4 separate regions of the Homo sapiens genome follow, and all the other regions are linked to region 2. Evidence: promoter capture Hi-C in human tissues and cell types (Jung and others, 2019). All regions are on one chromosome and are shown on one strand. Each heading gives the region's core, a stretch centred on a gene start or on the middle of the fragment in contact. The rest is flanking DNA. Distances are from core to core; before and after follow the strand shown. Region 1 overlaps MAML2 (mastermind like transcriptional coactivator 2). Region 2 holds the start of MTMR2 (myotubularin related protein 2). Region 3 overlaps CCDC82 (coiled-coil domain containing 82). Region 4 overlaps MAML2 (mastermind like transcriptional coactivator 2).

Region 1 (4,172 bases), core at 826-3,325, 360 kb after region 2:
TGGGAGGCTGAGGCAGGAGAATCGCTTGTGGTTGCAGTGAGCCGAGATCATGCCACTGCACTCCAGCCTGGGCAACAGACACTCTGCCTCAAAAAAAAAAAAAAAAAAAAATTAGAACTTTCTAAAATAATTTAAAATGGAATAAAAGATATCTTAGAAGAATTAAATCCTGAAGTACTAATTTAGTATCCTGAAAAAGTTAATAAGGTAAACAAAATAAATGGCCTGGCACATAGTAGGTGCTCTAGAACTGCTAAAACCCTTCTGTGGGAACTTTTTTTTTTTTTTTTCCATTCTCCAGGGCAGTGATTCTCAAGCTAGATACACAACAGAATCATCTGGAGGACTTGTTAAAACAGAATGCTAAGCCCCATCCCCAGTCTCCAATTCTGTGGATCTGGGGCAGAGTCCAGTAATTTGCATGTGTGATGCCGCTGCTGCTGCTGTTCTTGGAAGCACACCTTGAGAACCACTGCCTGGGGAACAGCTTAGCTGCTATGAGAATCTGATTCTGTGTTCATATTCCGTATCACAGATAGCTCTTGGCTTTTCAATTGTGGTTTCTTTTTTTAATGTCTTACTAAGGGGGAAAAAAAGGAACGCCACTTTATATAAACCTGACCTTTTGGTAAGCCTGGGTAGTAACTTCCCATGTGGAGTAAATTAATCTCTTTCATGCATGCCTCGTGCTCTGGAAAAAGTAAAACAGATTGTGTTAGACATTTACCAAGTACTTTTTCTGTTGGTGGTCACTGCCCTAAGCCTATCAGAACTGGTTTCTACCCTTAAGAAGCTTACAATGTAGTAAGGCGGACATCCCAACAAACCAGACATTGGAGTTCATTGTGTGAGGTGCTATGATGGATTATAAGACATTATGATTGACTGAGTATTATGAAGGGGTGAAGCAAACTCAAGCTGGCAAATTAGGGAGGAGGTAGATCACACAGGCTTTCCTAATGGGATTACTTATGACTCATTGAGTAGTGAAAGATGAATAGGACTTTACTAAACAGAAACTGGAAGGGCTTTCTGGGCTAAGGGAACAGCACAGAAGCATCAAATACACTTTACCTTTCTAGGGCTGCCAGTAGTTTAATTCAGCAATACCACATCACAAAGGTCTTTGTGTGCTTTGCTAATGAGTTTGAACTTTATCATAAAAGCATTTTACAAAGATCACACTGGCAGCTGCATTTTGGAAGGGATTTGCCTAGAGGTAGGATAACTGCGGGGGGTATGTCTATAGCAATAAAAGTGAGAAAATATGAGATCTGAAGGAGCTAACATTGTGGCAGTGGCAGTGGGTATAAAGGAGAAGGGAGGACTAGAAGAGATATTTAAGATGCAAACAATGTAGGAACTGGGTGATTATAGAACTGAAAAGTGAGTGAGAGGGAGGAATCCATGAGAACTCACATATTTCTGGTTAGGATAAAAGACTGATTGACTGACATGAAGACTACAAGAGAAAAAAACAGACTTGGAGTTGAAACTTCAGTTTAGGACACTGAAACTGAATGATGTGTCATTCAAGTGGAAAGGCCATTAGGCAGTTAGATATGTAGGCTTAGAGCACAGGAGAAAGGTCTTAAAACCCTGGGCTTATGGGACGTTACCACGGAGACTGCACAGAGTGAGAAGATCCATTTTAAAGCTGATGATGAATAATATTTTCGTTATAAGGAGAGAAGCAATGTTAGGGGTGTCTTCCCATTGCTGGAGTGGGTCATTTGCAGTATGCAGTGCATAAACTCACAGGCTGTCCTTATGATGACCTTTTGTTCATTCTTACATTCAGTATACAGATGAACAAAGGAAGTATTTTATGTCTTGTAAATTACAAGGGACTATGCAGTATGTAAGGGAAGATACAGGAGAGTAAGGGAAGGAGAAAGAGGGTGACTAACAAGCTTCTCAGAGATTAGCCAAGAACTATGGCATTGAATCTAGGTCTCTCCTGTCCTCAATTTGACACTCTCCACTCCCCTGACATGTTTTGTATTAAAATATATTTTTCTTTTTATGAACATGTCATACCTATGGCTCACCTGTGTCCTTGCTAACCTACAGGTTTGGACAATCTGGAATTGGCAGCATGCATGACTGTGGAGCTTTAAAGCCACCCTCCTGAGAGAAGAGCAGCTGACTCATGTACCTCACCATGCAGATGAGGGTGTGTTATAACCCACAGTGTGTCTGTGTCCCTGGATGAACTGAGCACTTTATAATGGAGTTTTTCTGCATCTCAAAAAGAAGTCACAGATTAAATGGTAACTGCAAGAGCTCATTTCTCTATTTGAGTGAGTGCTTTATCAAAAAAATATTTTATTCCTGCTGCTTTACCACAGGGTCAATTCAAGTCTAAATGAATCTGGCATGTATAAAATATATTTTTATATAGCTCCATATAGAGATATAGCTCTACACAGCCATTAACAGACTCACACACAATCATTCTTTTATTCCAGGTGTGAACTGCTATGCTATTTCACCCAGTTCAAACACAGGTCATTGGCTTTCAAACTAATTTTGGAAAGCAGACACTGTGTAGTTGGTAGGTGGAATAAAATGAAAACAAAAAATTAATATGCATGGCAGTTTAACTAGCTGTGTATCTCTCATGGAAAGGGGGTAATAGTCTAAAATTATTTACTCATTTTTTTTTAAAGTCTTTAAAAGAAGGCAATGAATTGCCAGTAATTTCCCCACCTTAACTCATGGTAATTTGTTTCCTGCTGGGTGAAAACGCAGGGATCTTGAAACTGTTAATGAACTTTCTTTCTCCTGATCTGTACAATGTCAAATTCATTTCTTTTTTTCTTACTTCAGGTTTTACTATTCTGTTTTGTTTGTTCCATTTTTGTATTTTTTCCTGAGGTCAGGGATGATTCTATGGAAGCATGAAAATTTGTAGTTGAAAGGGATCTTAGAACTTCAGCAAGATTTGTGATAGATGGTCAAGTGGGTCTGGGCTCGCACCCTCCCTAAGGTGAAAGACTCACTGCCTTACCCCACAGCTATTTCACTACTTACAGACTACCACACAATAGCCAGGGTGCTGCCCTATTTGCAACATGAACTGGAACATTATATTGGGACATAATGATGAGTGGTAGCTAAAAGTCCTTTCCCTCTGGTGTTGTTATTTGGTTAAATTGATTTACATAATGTTATTCTGTGGTATAAACCTTTCTCATTTATCTCATATATATCCCATTTTAAGCTATAAGCTCCCAGAGGGGTAGGTACTTCATCATTACTTCTGTACTCAAGTATTTTGCATATCTTTGATACAAAGTAAGAACAATGTATATGTATATCAGTTTAACTCTCAGATGAATGAACTAATAAAACTTGTAACAGTATTTTCCAATGTAGTGAGTACATTAAGCATCATTAATATTAAAATGCAAATTAATGCATTATTTGCAAGTTTTCAAATCATGTGTACTTAAGAATTTTCTTTTAAAATGTATCAAAAGACTGAACATTCAAGCTGATTATCATAAAAAGTGTATGTATGGGGGTAATATTCAAAATATTTAACAACCCAGAAGAACATGGGAGCTGTAATTCCCACAAATCACCATGTGAAGGTGATTCCAGGGAAGAGTCAGTCAACAGAGAATAGCCACTGATGGAAGGGAAGTGGGGTCTGGTGGCAGGTGATGGATAGATCACTAAACATTTGTCCAAGAGAGTGCTAGTGTTGCCGCTAGGGGTGAATATTTCTGTTGGGGTCCAGGTCTGCTCTGGCTGGGGAGGTGTGGGGAAGCAAGCAGGAATGGGGCTGCAAAAGGCTGGCTAGGGTAGCCCACAGTGGTATCTGCCCAGGAATCCCTGGGGTCTGGGCAGGGTAGTGGGAGGCACTGGTTGAGGGAAAAGGAATAATAGTTTTTTTCCCTGTTTGTCAGCTGAGTTAGCAGCCCTGGTTTTGAGAAATATTAAAATATGCCTTTGATTTTTGGGGATATCAATGAGTTTTGCAATGAAGTAGAGGGGATCACCAGTTTAAGACTTACTGATCAGTATGGGCAACATGGCAAAATCCCACCTCTACAAAAAAATTAAAAATTTGCTGGATGTGGCAGCATGCACCTGTAATCCCAGCTACTCAGGAGGCAGAAGTGGGAGGATCACTGGAGCCAGGGAGGTCAAAGCTACAGTGG
Region 2 (4,415 bases), core at 1,203-3,702:
AAAGATACATAGAATTTAGCAGGGAAACTTCCATACAGTAGACATTAAGTAAATGTTACTTTTCTACCTTCCAGAGGAGAGTAATGAAAGCTGGCATTCTCTTATGGAAAATAGGAATCATACTTATATTTTTGTCCAGAGAGGATTAGGCTAATCTACTATATCACAATTCTCTCGAGGAGTACTTAATTTTCTCAAATTTGTCAGTAACATAATTTTTTATAGAGAAGTTCATATACATATATAATCTTTATACTTGCTGGGCTTTCTGTTTTAGGAAATAAATATGTTCAAGTGGCACCGTTAGGTATATTAGTTTGTAATAATAAAGGACACTTATTTCGTGTAATTGCAAAAATCCAAAACAAAGGTTATTTGCAAAGGAATTATCTTTAAAATTAATATCAATGCATTCATCTTAGTATTGTCATTAAAATTTTAAAAATGACAATGTTAGAGTTCCAAGGGACCTTACAGATTTTCTAGATCAAGCTTCTTATTTTAAAAGATGAGAAAACTGTAGACTAGAAAGTCTAAATGAAAAGACCAAAGAGCTAGCTCAGCCAGAGACTTCAGCATGGGAGCTTCCTAACTTCCAGTACTTCCTTCTTTCTAACATACTGTGCTGCTTCATGTGGTTCTAACTTCTCTGCCTTGGATGAGAGTACTGGTTGCCTCTTATGCTATTCTGAGGCATAGTTGTCATTTGTAACTTTCCCATAAAATTCGAATTTTCCAACCTGTTTTCTGAATGAATTACACAACTGAACATGTTAATCCTCAGCTTTCCAAATTTCAAAGCAATAAATACAGAATTCAAAAAATACTTGATTCAAACGTGCAATATATATAATCAAACTGCAAAGAAAAATCCTCCTTTCCTGGATAATTCAGGCTACAAATTCGAAAAAAAAAAAACCATTTAGTGAGCACCTATCACATGCTGAGACTATGTTAAGTGCTGGAGATATGAAGATGATTAAGATTGCCCTCAAGTATAATAGCTTATAACCTGGTAGAAAAGGCACTTTAAGCCAACAATTATAGTGTGCTTATTAAAGACTCTGAAAAACGACTGTGCAGGGAGCTATGAGTGCATATGGCAATGTAGAATGACGGGATCAGACAGTGGTTCCCCAGTGAGGTGCTGAACATCAACAGGAAAAAAGGCAATAACTACCCATATTTAGCAGAATCCAAAATGAATTATAATAGAGCCACTTCAACTGATTGAAGGAGAAAATGAAAATTGTGTGTTTTCACACAGCAGTTATCGAATCACTCTCTAATAACAATTAGACTATTATTCAGTGGAAAAGAACCAGATTTCATCGTGGCTGCATAAAAAGCAAATACAGGTCTTATATTATTTTTTAAAAAATTTTTAAATCATTATTTTAAAATCAAAGAAAAAGACTGCATCCAAAACGCGTCTAGTTAATATTCATAAAAGCTCTCTGCAAAGCTGCATAAAGTCCTCCTCAAAATTCCAGGATAAAATTCCCATCTGTTACAAGAGAAATGACAACGTGGAGAACCAGTAGCCCAAGAAGGAAGAAAACTACCACTCATTTTGTTTTCTTAAACCTATCACTGGGGATAAAAACCACTCAGATTCCTTGATACTGACTTTCAGCTGGAAGATTTAGAAAAGAGAAGCACAGGAGACATTTTTATTTACATATTTAAGCAAAAAGGGAGGCGAGAAGAAAATCAGAGTGTAGAGAAAAGCATGAAAGAAATTAAGAAGGTGAAGCCATGAAAAGAGAGAAAAGGGCTGGGCAAGAACCCAAAAACCAAAGACATAAGAAGGGGTGGAGGAGGAAAGACTGACTTTAGGATGGTTTTGGAAAAAGTGACAGAGAAAGACAGGAAATGTGGGGAAAAGAATGGGGGCGGGGGGAACTGTCTTAAAAAAGGTTTGAGAGGGAATGAAAGACAGGAGAAAGTAATTAACTGGGACCACCTCCATCGGGGAGAAAACGAGATCGGAATATGAAAGGTAGAGGAATCGATAAAGAAGCAGCGAGTTTTAACCTCCTTTTCCTCAGCCTCCACGCCCCAGGGAGGGAGGCAGAAGTGGTTCCCAAGTCCCGGGGAAGGAATTCCGGCGTAGCCTTCAGAAACCAGAATCCGCGAATTGGGGCAACAATCCAGCAGGTCCCCGGCCCCTCTCCATCCCCTTCGGACGCTGGGCGGGGCCCTGGGCGTCCTGGTTACCTGGACAAGGAGTCCACGCTGGGCGGCCGAGCCGCCGCCGGCTGGGAGCCAAGACTCTCGCAGCTCGAGCTCTTCTCCATCGCGCGGCAGGGGCAGCACAGGGAAAGGCTGAAGCAGTCTTCGCGGCTACAGGGCGGGAGAAGCGGAGGGCGGAGTGCTACGGACCGGGGCCGCAGTCAGGCCAGCGCCGGCCCGGGAGGGAGACCGGAAGCGGCCATGTTCCCCCAGAGTGCACCGCGCCTGTAGGCTGCTGGGCAGCGGGAAGACCCCACTGCGCAGCTCAGACGCCGGCATCGACTCTCCGTGCTGGCTGTGTCCGGCCGCGCGACATCTGGTCTTGGGGAAAGGGAGGTGGCGGCTCCCAGGGTGAGGGGGTCTGGTGAAGCGGGAGGGATGAAGGACCAGACCCTTATGGAAGGAGGAGAAATCCTAGGTGTAAGAGGAATGAGGGAACACTAAACATGAGGGTCTCAGGAAGGCGATAAGGACCTGAGGCCAGGAGGATGATTTAGACAGGAATGTGGGGGTCAAGGAAAACAAGAGGACCGGATAATGAGAGAAAAGTGAGAAAGAGGTATGGGAGAGGGATTGGGGAGGATCTGATATACATGCAAAAAGAATTATATACTACTGGATGCGGTGGTGTTGGATTACCCAAGTAGAAGACAAACTTTCACCGATTTTTCCCTGCCCTTTCAAATTCCCGTGCCTAGCAGGAAGGGAGTGTGGAGGAATAGAACTGTGATAAGAGAACAGGAACTGGGTAAAGGGGAAATGCTTCTGCTAGGATTTTTCTGTTAGGATACAGGAAAGCCATAAGGACACCATAAAGGGATTTTTCTGATTGAGATTGAATCCTAATCATCTCATGTATGGGGTGTAAAATTATGCAAAGATTATTCCTGTAAAAAAAAAATCAGACCATCCTTAAAAAACTTCCTTGCTAGGATAAATTGAATTATATTGATTTAAACTAGATTTAATTTATAATGTACAACTGATGTCTTTTAAAAAACCTTATAGTTGCAGTGCAGTATTAACTTGCAAGTACATTCCCAAGAAGAACAACCTAGCTTAGTTATGTTCAGTGTAAGGTAGAATAGTTACTGATGAGTATGTGTTTAAGCACAAAAGGCTTAGCCTTTTTTGAGTTTGGCGAGGACAGACAGCGACCGATTGTTTTTATTTCCATAATTTTTAAGATACCTTAACTGGACTCTGTAGGCAAAGGGAGTAGGTAGTCAAAAACATTTTTTAACAAGCTTAAATATCTATCATGACTCATAGAAGAATTTCCTTATTTCTTCACCATCTCTACCTGCCTTCCAAAATGCTGACTCACTGTCAGCTACTTTGACTTAAATTTCCTTAGTGAAGGCTGATGAACCCTTGAATGGGAGACCTATGTACTTTCTTCCACCCAGTTCATTCGTAGCACTTTGTTAATAGAACCCTCGAAACCTTCTGCCTGATGTAACAATATGTGTATGGTTCTATCTAGTGATTAATAAAGAACAGTGTAGTAAAAGTGTAGAGACTTTGGAACCAGACAGATCTTCATCGGAATCCCGGTTCTGTCTCTACACTTGCTCTGTGCTGTGGTTAAGTTGTTTCACATCTCTAAAATGGGAATAAAATGGGAATAAAAATATCTACGTAATAGGTTGTTTTTCTCTGTGCAGAGTCGGTTGCACAGTACGGTCTCACTAAGTAGATTTATTATTACTTGTTTTTCCACTGAACTTACTGCTTGACTTCTAACCTGACTGGTAAAATGGTAACTTCTCAGAGTGAAAACACAAGCAAAGAATATCAGCTGGAAATTAATTAGTGAACTCTAATTAATTAATGAACTCTAAGAAAATGAAAAAACATGGTTAACTTGGGACCTCACCAAAAGTTATTAATTTTTCAATTTATAATCTGGGCTGTTTTTTCTCAAACTATCTGCAAGAAGGAACAGTGTTTTGTTTTTAATTTTCAAACCATCACCAACCAAAACTTTTTTAAAATATAAGAAAAATTAATCACAGTTGGTTCCATATCCTCAGATTCAACCAACCACAGATTGAAAAATTTGTAAAAATTGTAAAAAACAAAATAATACAAATAGAAGACAATACAGTATAACAACTATTTACATAACATTTACATTGTATTAGATATTATAAGTAATCTAGAGTTGATTTAAAGTA
Region 3 (4,235 bases), core at 191-2,690, 450 kb after region 2:
CTCTTTCCAACGACTTCTAGATACCAAGCTCTCTAGACGAGGCTGAACAAAGCGGTTATCCAAATAATGAAGAGATGTTAGCATATCTTTTGCATATGATTTTTGCCTTGTGCCATCTGTTCAGGGGATAAACAACAAAAAAAATCATTTTGTTAATTAGAAATATTTAAACTATTTAATACTTAAAAATTTCTTCCCAACTTGGTTGGAAGCATTTTAAATTAGGAAAAAAAATATTTAAAAAATCATTCCATCAGAACATTAAGGAAAAACAGGGTAGGCCGGGCACGGTGCCTCATGCCTGTAATCCCAGCACTTTGGGAGGCCGAGGTGGGTGCATTACGAGGTCAGGAGATCGAGACCATCCTGGCTAACACGGTGAAACCCCATCTCTACTAAAAATACAAAAAATTAGCCAGGCGTGGTAGCGGGCACCTGTAGTCCCAGCTACTCGGGAGGCTGAGGCAGGAGAATGGTGTGAACCCGGGAGGGGGAGCTTATAGTGAGCTGAGATCGCACCACTGTACTCCAGCCTGGGTGATAGAGTGAGACTCCGTCTCAAAAAGTTCCCTTTGTAAGCATCAAGCTTTAACATTACTTTCTGATAACAAAAAAAGTCAGATGAAAAAGCTTATCAAATTATCTTTTATTCTCTTATACAAAACTGACATGAATTAGCCCCTGAATTCCAGATAAAGTTCAAACTTCTGAATAGGCTTTCAAGGCCGTCTACAATTGACTCCATTCTACTGATCCCATGGTAACTCCTTGTGTCAACAAATCAGAATACTCTTTTCTAGCTAGGCGTTTTCCTCATTCTTCTTTAGCATGCTACACTCATTACTGCCTTTCTGATTTGGCTCATAGTATATTCTCTATATACATCTGTCATCGTATGAATTTAAGCTTTATTTTCTTGCCTTATTTGAAGTTTTATTAATTAATTTAACTAATAAATTTATCATGTTTCTTTAAATAATCACAAATTCAAACACCTTACCATAGCTTACAAAGCCCTTCTGTCCTCAGCCTACTCCTCTGAGCTCCTCTCTTTTCCCTCTCTCCTGTCTCATTCCACTTCAGCCACAAAGGCCTTCTAGTTGTTCTTGAACACACCAAACTTACTCTTTCCTAAAGGCCTTAGCACCTCCTTTGCCCTCTGCTAAGCAAGTAATCCACGTATTACTTGCTCCCTTTGCTTCATTCAGGTTTCTGTTTAAAAGCTACCCCAAGAGGCCTTTTTTGACTAATCTAACTAGCAGATAACATAAACTTTACCTTCCCTTATTCTCAATCTTCTTACCCTATTTTATTTTTTTGCAAGAACTAATCACCACTGAAATCGTATTATATTTTGTTTACTCATTTATTGTCTGTCTCTCCCATTAGACTATAAGTAACATGAGTGCAGGAATCTAATATGCCTTAAGTCACTGTCACATCCCCAGCCCTCAAATAATGCCTAGCTTATAGTAGACATTCAATAAATATTTGTTCAATATATTGTAAATGAAATCTTATTTGGCAATTAGTTATTCAACACAATATATTTATAGTCTATTAAATGCCAGATTCTGTGCTAGATGCAAGAGAAATGGGGATATATATATATAAATATAAATATATATATAAATATAAATATATATAAACATATATAAATATAAATAAATATATAAAAATATATATATACATATATATTTATATATATAAATATATAAATATACGTATATTTATATATATATTTATAAATTTGCTCCCACACTATGATAAGGGAAGAAAGCAAAAATACATTTTCAATACAACATGAAAAGTGCATATAAATGAGTACTATGAGTATTACCATACTCAGAATGATGGCGGCACAAATGAGAATGATAAATATTATGTGAATGGGTCATAGATAGATTCATAGTACAAATGTTTTTACACTCACCTAAAACATCTGGGACAAAAAGGGATTCTATTCTAAGAAGAAACAGCATGGACAAAGGCACAAAAGCAGAAAACAGCATGGAACTTTTAATGAAATTCAGAGCTCAGAGAGGCTGGGTTTGGCACATGGGTATTAAGACACTCTGCTGTTTTAGGTGTTATCCTGTCAAATTCACTGTTAACTCCCTAAGGGAAAGGACCTGTCACAAACTTACCTTCCACATATCTCAGATAATGAACACTAACAAGCATTTTACATGAATGGAGTTTTGATGTAGTTGATCCTACAGGGAAAACATTGGAAGGTCTTACAAATGATCCTCATTGGTTTTGTTTAATCTACATAGTTTTAAAAGTGAGGTTGTTTTAAAATTGGAAAAAGAAATAAAAACCAATTGTTTCATTCATAGTATTAACTTACCATATAATGTTCCCAGAAAAGATTCATCTAAAGCGTTGATCAGAAGAGCCTTCACAACTCTTTCAAAATGAGTATAGTGGTCACTAAAAGAATCTGAAATTAATTTCAAATAAATATTAGAACAGAGCAGACAAAATAATTTCTTGAATACAATAGGTTCCATTCTCCACTGCTAAGAAATTAAAACTATAGATAGCACAAACAGCTTAATCATCCTAATTTTATAGCTTCCTCGATGACTTGTTTAGTCACGGAGCAAATCTCCATTTTCCAAACTTACTGGCTTCCAATCCAAAGTGTCTACTTGTAATTTCAAATCTTTACTTCCCAAACTTAAGAAAACTGTTCAGAGAATATTAAAATAAGTTTAAAAAATAAAAATTATCCCTTGCACACCTATATTTAATTATCAATTTGACACTTAGAGTGACAGAACAAGAGAGAAAACCTCCAAAGACAGATTAATATGTCTTATTCTGTAAAACGCGTTACATATGAAATTGTCCAGGGAACTGCTATCTTAGCCAGAACCCCAATGGCTACAAAAACTTCATTTCCCTTTTCATGCTGCCCCAGATTTAGGATTTTCTACATCAATTTAGAAAACTTGTCTATTTCCTTCCCCATACCACATATTTAAGCCCACTTCCTCGCTAACCAAATCTCACACATGACATCATCTGTTGTGACAGGCCAGGCAGTGGTTAAGAGAGAAGATTCCTACTATTCTCATTACTTTTGGATCAGAGTTTACTATGACTGTGGAAATGTTCTCTATCAACCACGACCCATTCCTTGATCCAACAGTCACTGTAGAATACATGCCCTGCTCAGGGCACCTGTGAAGACATATTAAGGGCAGACTGAGTATTTCGAGAAATATAGAAGATGTCTGACAAGGGATTAAAGCAAAATAAGACCTATCATTAGCAACCATGGATAGATTTTGACTCTCCTTCCACTTGAAGTAAAAAGAAAGATGGGATTCAACATGGAAAACCCTCTTCATTTATATTTTAGTTACTCAAAGGGCTGTATAACTCTCTTTCAGACTTTAGGGTACATTTTAGTATGCATTCTTTTCTAAGGAGACACCTATAGAAGTGCTAAAGAGACAAAAATAAAGTAATACTAAAAATAAATGACAATAGCAGATCATTTGGCCATTAGCCTTTAGATGGCCTATGATCAAAGGCAATAATCATGGCCTTTAATGAATATAATATTTTCTTAAAAATCAGTACGGCATAATTGAAAAATGAAATAATACTTCATTTTGTTACACAGGTAAACTCATGTCATAAGGGTCTGTTGTACTGATTATTTCATCACCCAGGAATTAGACCCAGTACCCAATAGTTATCTTTTCTGCTTCTCTCCCTCCTCCTACTCTCCACCCTCAAAAAATTAATATTGTTGACATTTTAAACATCTCTGCCAGATATGTTATAAGCAAGTAATAATGGTTATGAATTTATTTATTAGATAGATTTGTCTAATTTCATTTTGGATTGTAATTTATTTACATTGCCACTAGTGAATCTTATTAAAAATTTCTAAATAAATAAGTAAATAAATTTGGGGGACATGCAAACATTCAGACCAAAAAGAAAAAAAAAAGAAATAATACTTCAATAGAATTTGACTAGACTGTTATCAAACTCTGGACATAATATAATATTGGGCAATTTTATTTGTGTTAAAATCCATCTAAACTGTATCTATAAAAGCATTTCTCAAATGGTATTAAGAGAAACTGGGACTATTAACAGATGTGTTGAGAAACAAATCAAATTCATCCCATGTGCACCTAAGTTTAACTATCATACAAATTGCATAGAATATTTCATCCTACTGAAGGTATCATTCTTGAATGTCCTTA
Region 4 (3,860 bases), core at 757-3,256, 300 kb after region 2:
ATTTACCTTTCATGCTTTGCATTCTCTCAAAGTACATTTCTCTGCAGAATACTTTTTCCTACTAAATGATTCCAGGCAAGCTTGATATTACATAGGTAAATACATTTGCTTTCTGCGTCGAGGTACTTGTACTAATTCCAAGTTGCTTTGAAAAATGCACTAGAAAAAACGTTTGGTGTGCCTTTTGAATTTTTCCACAGCAGTGTCAGTGACAGAAGGCAGCTGTAACGCAGCTGTAACCCTGGCTTTGACTTGGTTTAAAGGCTGATATTTGACTCCAACTCCAAAAACAATCATCATTCTTATAATTCAATCCTAAGGCACCATGCATCCTCGGTGAACCCCACTTAATTGTCATCTTTAATAGGGGCACTACTTGGAAATCCAGTTTTCAGCATGTCTTTTTTTATCCTCAGCGTACACAGCATGAAATGCATTTTTATCTTGATGCAGAGCAAGTGACTTACTTGGGTCAACTGACTACTATTTTAAGGCCAGAATTTCTTGAATAAATAAAGTATAAAAACTCAGAGATTTTTATATTATTTCCACAAAATTACTTTTGTGAGGTAACTTCCTGCCCCATTGGTCTCATTTTAAAATGGAGCATATTTTATGGGAATGTATAATACTGACACTTTTTCTTTTTGTTTTTTAGTTTATTTGAGGTCTTCACATAGAAGAGTATTTATGTATGCCAAAAAATTCAAATCTCAAAATTTTCCCTCCAATTCCTGACTGGGTAGGTTGCCAAATAAAATGTAAAAGCCCAGTCAAATTTGAATTTCAGATAAATAACAAATAAGTTTTTAAAAGTTATAAGTATGTCCCATGGAATATTTGAAACATACTTGTACTGAAAGATAATTCATTGTTTATCTGAAATTCAAATTTAACTGAGCATTTTATATTTTTATTTGCTAAATCTGGCAACCCTATATCTGGGGGCACTTGAATTATGATCAGAAGTACATTATCTCCAGATTGTAGGTCTGCAAAATTCCCAAAGGACCATTCTTTTCTTGGGTATGTGCAAAAGTGGAGACTGTCCCACCACGCCATTCCCAAAGGCCCCTGGGGCCATCCGGCTCCGGGTCTAATGGATCTAGACAGTGGAGATTAACCAGTCCCTTCTTTAAAGTATGTTAAAAAGCTTTAAAACAACATAAATAAGGCCCTTCACATACTGGGCACTCAATGTATTTAGGTTGAAATCTTTGATGTTCATTAGTGCCAGTCAAGATGAGGACAGAGATAAAATATGACATCTTAGAAACCATTCCTGTACATGTCTCACCTTTCAATCTAAGCACTTTCGGATTCTTCAAAAACCAGCTATAATTCCACCTTGTTCAAGAGGCCTTCCCAGATCACCTCGGGCATGAGTTCTTTGCCACCTCAACTCTCCAGCATTTATCGTTTATACAGTTCATTTGACGTTTAACATATTTTGCTTAATATGTTAACCATCTTTTCATTTATACATTCTTTTAGGAAAAACATAGATAGTAGAAGCCTTGCACCGTGATTTACAGCATGAGCCTAGGAGTCAGACCAATTTTGGTTTCCAATGCTGCCCTGTCCTGTCTGAGCTTTGTAACCCTGAACAAACATCTTTTCTGAGTCTCAGTTCATTATTATTATTATTTTGAGACAGGGTCTCACTCTGTCATGTAGGCTGGAGTGCAGTGGCACAAGCTCGGCTCACTGCAACTCCACCCTCCTGGGTTCAAGTGGTTCTCATGCCTCAGCCTCCTGAGCATTTGGGATTACAGATACCTGCCACGATACCCAGCTAATTTTTGTATGTTTAGTAGAGATGGGGTTTCATCATGTTGGTCAGGCTGGTCTCGAACTCCTGACCTTGTGATCTGCCCACCTCGGCCTCCCAAAGTGCTGAGATTACAGGTGTGAGCCAACATACTCAGCCATCAGTTTATTATTTTTAATCCCTCAGTAAAATGAGACTATTTCATCATGTTGTATTAAATGAGTTGATGCATGTATAGTGTTAACTCTTGGGAAACACAAAGACACTAAATGGTGGCATGTTGTTATCATTGCCATGATCTTTATATTAATATTACTATCTTCTTTTAATCTCCCACAGTGTCCATGCGTTATCAGGCCCTACGTGAATTGATCAAAGGATCTTTGCCTGAGAGTTGACAGAGGCTCCAAATTCCTTGCTGTCTAGAGAAGGGGGTGGGGGAACACTGCCTGTAAACAAATGAGTGACCCTCCTTCACTCTCTTAGGGTACAGATTTCATTCTCTTATTTCTCTTTCTCTGTGCTCCTTTAAACCTGCAGATTTAAGCCACTGCCTTGTGCTCTGCTTGGGATTATGTGAGAAGCAGGAAAATTTCAACTGCCTTAGAGATTTGTTTCCCTAGTGGCACCGGACATGGTGAGCCCTCCTGGGACTCAGAGTCAGCACATGCTTCCTGCCTTACTCTTTATTGACTATTTGCTGCCTCTTTATTTTTTTCTAAGTCATCAGTGAGGAAGTTGCATAACTTAAAAGCTAAGCTAAGTGGGAGTCTGTTTACTGCAATCTGGAGTCATACATATTATTTATCTTCTTTGCAAGTTGTTACAAAATGCAATGTAAAGTGTTCTTATACATGCAGAATTTTTTTTGTCATCCTTGGGTATGCATGAGCTTGAGTTTTTAACATTTTATTTCTGGTTGTATTATAGGTAATAGAGTAACTTGGAAAAAAGTACAATTTCCTTAACAGTCAGACATAGATTTAAAAAAATACAAGTTTCAAATACATCCTCTGAAACCTCTACTGGATTTTTCAAAATAGCAAATTCAAAATCTTTTATATAAAAAGTGAAAAAAAAAGCATCATCAAACTGAAAGGAGGATGCCTTTCTGGGTTGTTCATTCATCAGGATAATATCTGTAAAACTCTAATCTCTTGGAAGACTCTGGCTAAAACAAATTCATTTTTGGATCAGTACCCAGTGCCTTTTTCATAACAGGTATTCAATGGGCATTTGTTGAACCAACTAATGAGAAAGTATTTATTCAACAAGTATTTATTGAGCACTGAGGAGATGTATTACTATAAAATAAGTTCACAGTATATAGTGTTATTAATACTATGGTCATTAATTAATAATAATTTCACCACCACAACACTGTAATGCAGCCTCCAGAAAGCCAGTGACATAAACTGGAAGTTTGGGTGACAGAGTTTACAGCTTCTGATTATTTAGACTTAAAGCAATTAGCCTTGCTGTTCCCACTGTTAACCACAGAGAAGGACATGTTCCCAAGTTTCCACCTATTCACTTCTTGATTAATAACTTTAAAGTCATTCCAAACCTATCAAGACTCAGAGATAGCGCTGGGCCTTTCCTGTAGTGTGGGGTTTGTCTTCAGGAACAAAATCCCACTTCTGCAGCCTGCAGTGTGACCCATCTGTTTTGTATCCCCTGTCATTTTGGGAACAGTGTAACACTGTGGAGGCCAGGCTATACCCGAGGTTAGAGACCCCACCTTTAAAATTATTACTCTGGGGAAAGCAGGAAATATTGTTTCAATCATAAGGATAAAATATGGACAACTATGAACCACTTAAGAAGTTTCATAGCAGTTGCCTTCAACCACAAAACCAAAATCAGTATTGAGCTCTTTGCTTCTGCACAGTATAGGGAAGATGTGAGTGGCAGTTCAGTCAAGCTTTTTTTTTTTTTTTTTTTTTTACTGTTCTCTGGACCTGATTTTGCACTTGAAAATTTCCAAGCTCTCAGAGTACTTCAGTGTTAATAGAAAACAGCTAAAATGTTGCCACATTTGCAGATGTGGCAGATGTGAGCAGAAGAACAAGGTCAGCACACATAGGAC

What was found. Contacts are between HindIII fragments. The study calls those that stand out against the background at their distance.
Region 1: a contact is called between a fragment that was not itself captured here and the fragment with the promoter of MTMR2 in region 2, in 2 of the 25 tissues and cell types used here (aorta and mesenchymal stem cells).
Region 3: a fragment that was not itself captured here is called in contact with the fragment with the promoter of MTMR2 in region 2 in 2 of the 25 tissues and cell types used here (heart right ventricle and hippocampus).
Region 4: a contact is called between a fragment that was not itself captured here and the fragment with the promoter of MTMR2 in region 2, in 1 of the 25 tissues and cell types used here (bladder).

Annotation. Positions count from the first base shown.
Region 1 is chr11:96,277,644-96,281,815 of GRCh38, forward strand. The region is part of intron 1 of MAML2 (mastermind like transcriptional coactivator 2); the gene reads right to left. Among named protein-coding and RNA genes, the nearest start is that of MIR1260B, 62 kb to the right of the region's middle. RefSeq lists an enhancer at 2,079-2,138. The HindIII fragment of the contact is 6,915 bases long and covers 1-4,172 here.
Region 2 is chr11:95,921,655-95,926,069 of GRCh38, forward strand. MTMR2 (myotubularin related protein 2) reads right to left here and starts at 2,453. Exons shown (of 15, transcript NM_016156.6): 1 at 2,221-2,453. The coding sequence starts at 2,300. RefSeq lists enhancers at 2,431-2,480, 2,541-2,670. The HindIII fragment of the contact is 5,565 bases long and covers 1,988-4,415 here.
Region 3 is chr11:96,371,022-96,375,256 of GRCh38, forward strand. It overlaps CCDC82 (coiled-coil domain containing 82), which reads right to left. Exons shown (of 10, transcript NM_024725.4): 6 at 2,354-2,446; 7 at 1-116. Among named protein-coding and RNA genes, the nearest start is that of CCDC82, 17 kb to the right of the region's middle. The HindIII fragment of the contact is 3,940 bases long and covers 1-3,410 here.
Region 4 is chr11:96,217,994-96,221,853 of GRCh38, forward strand. The region is part of intron 1 of MAML2 (mastermind like transcriptional coactivator 2); the gene reads right to left. Among named protein-coding and RNA genes, the nearest start is that of MIR1260B, 120 kb to the right of the region's middle. The HindIII fragment of the contact is 4,299 bases long and covers 1-3,860 here.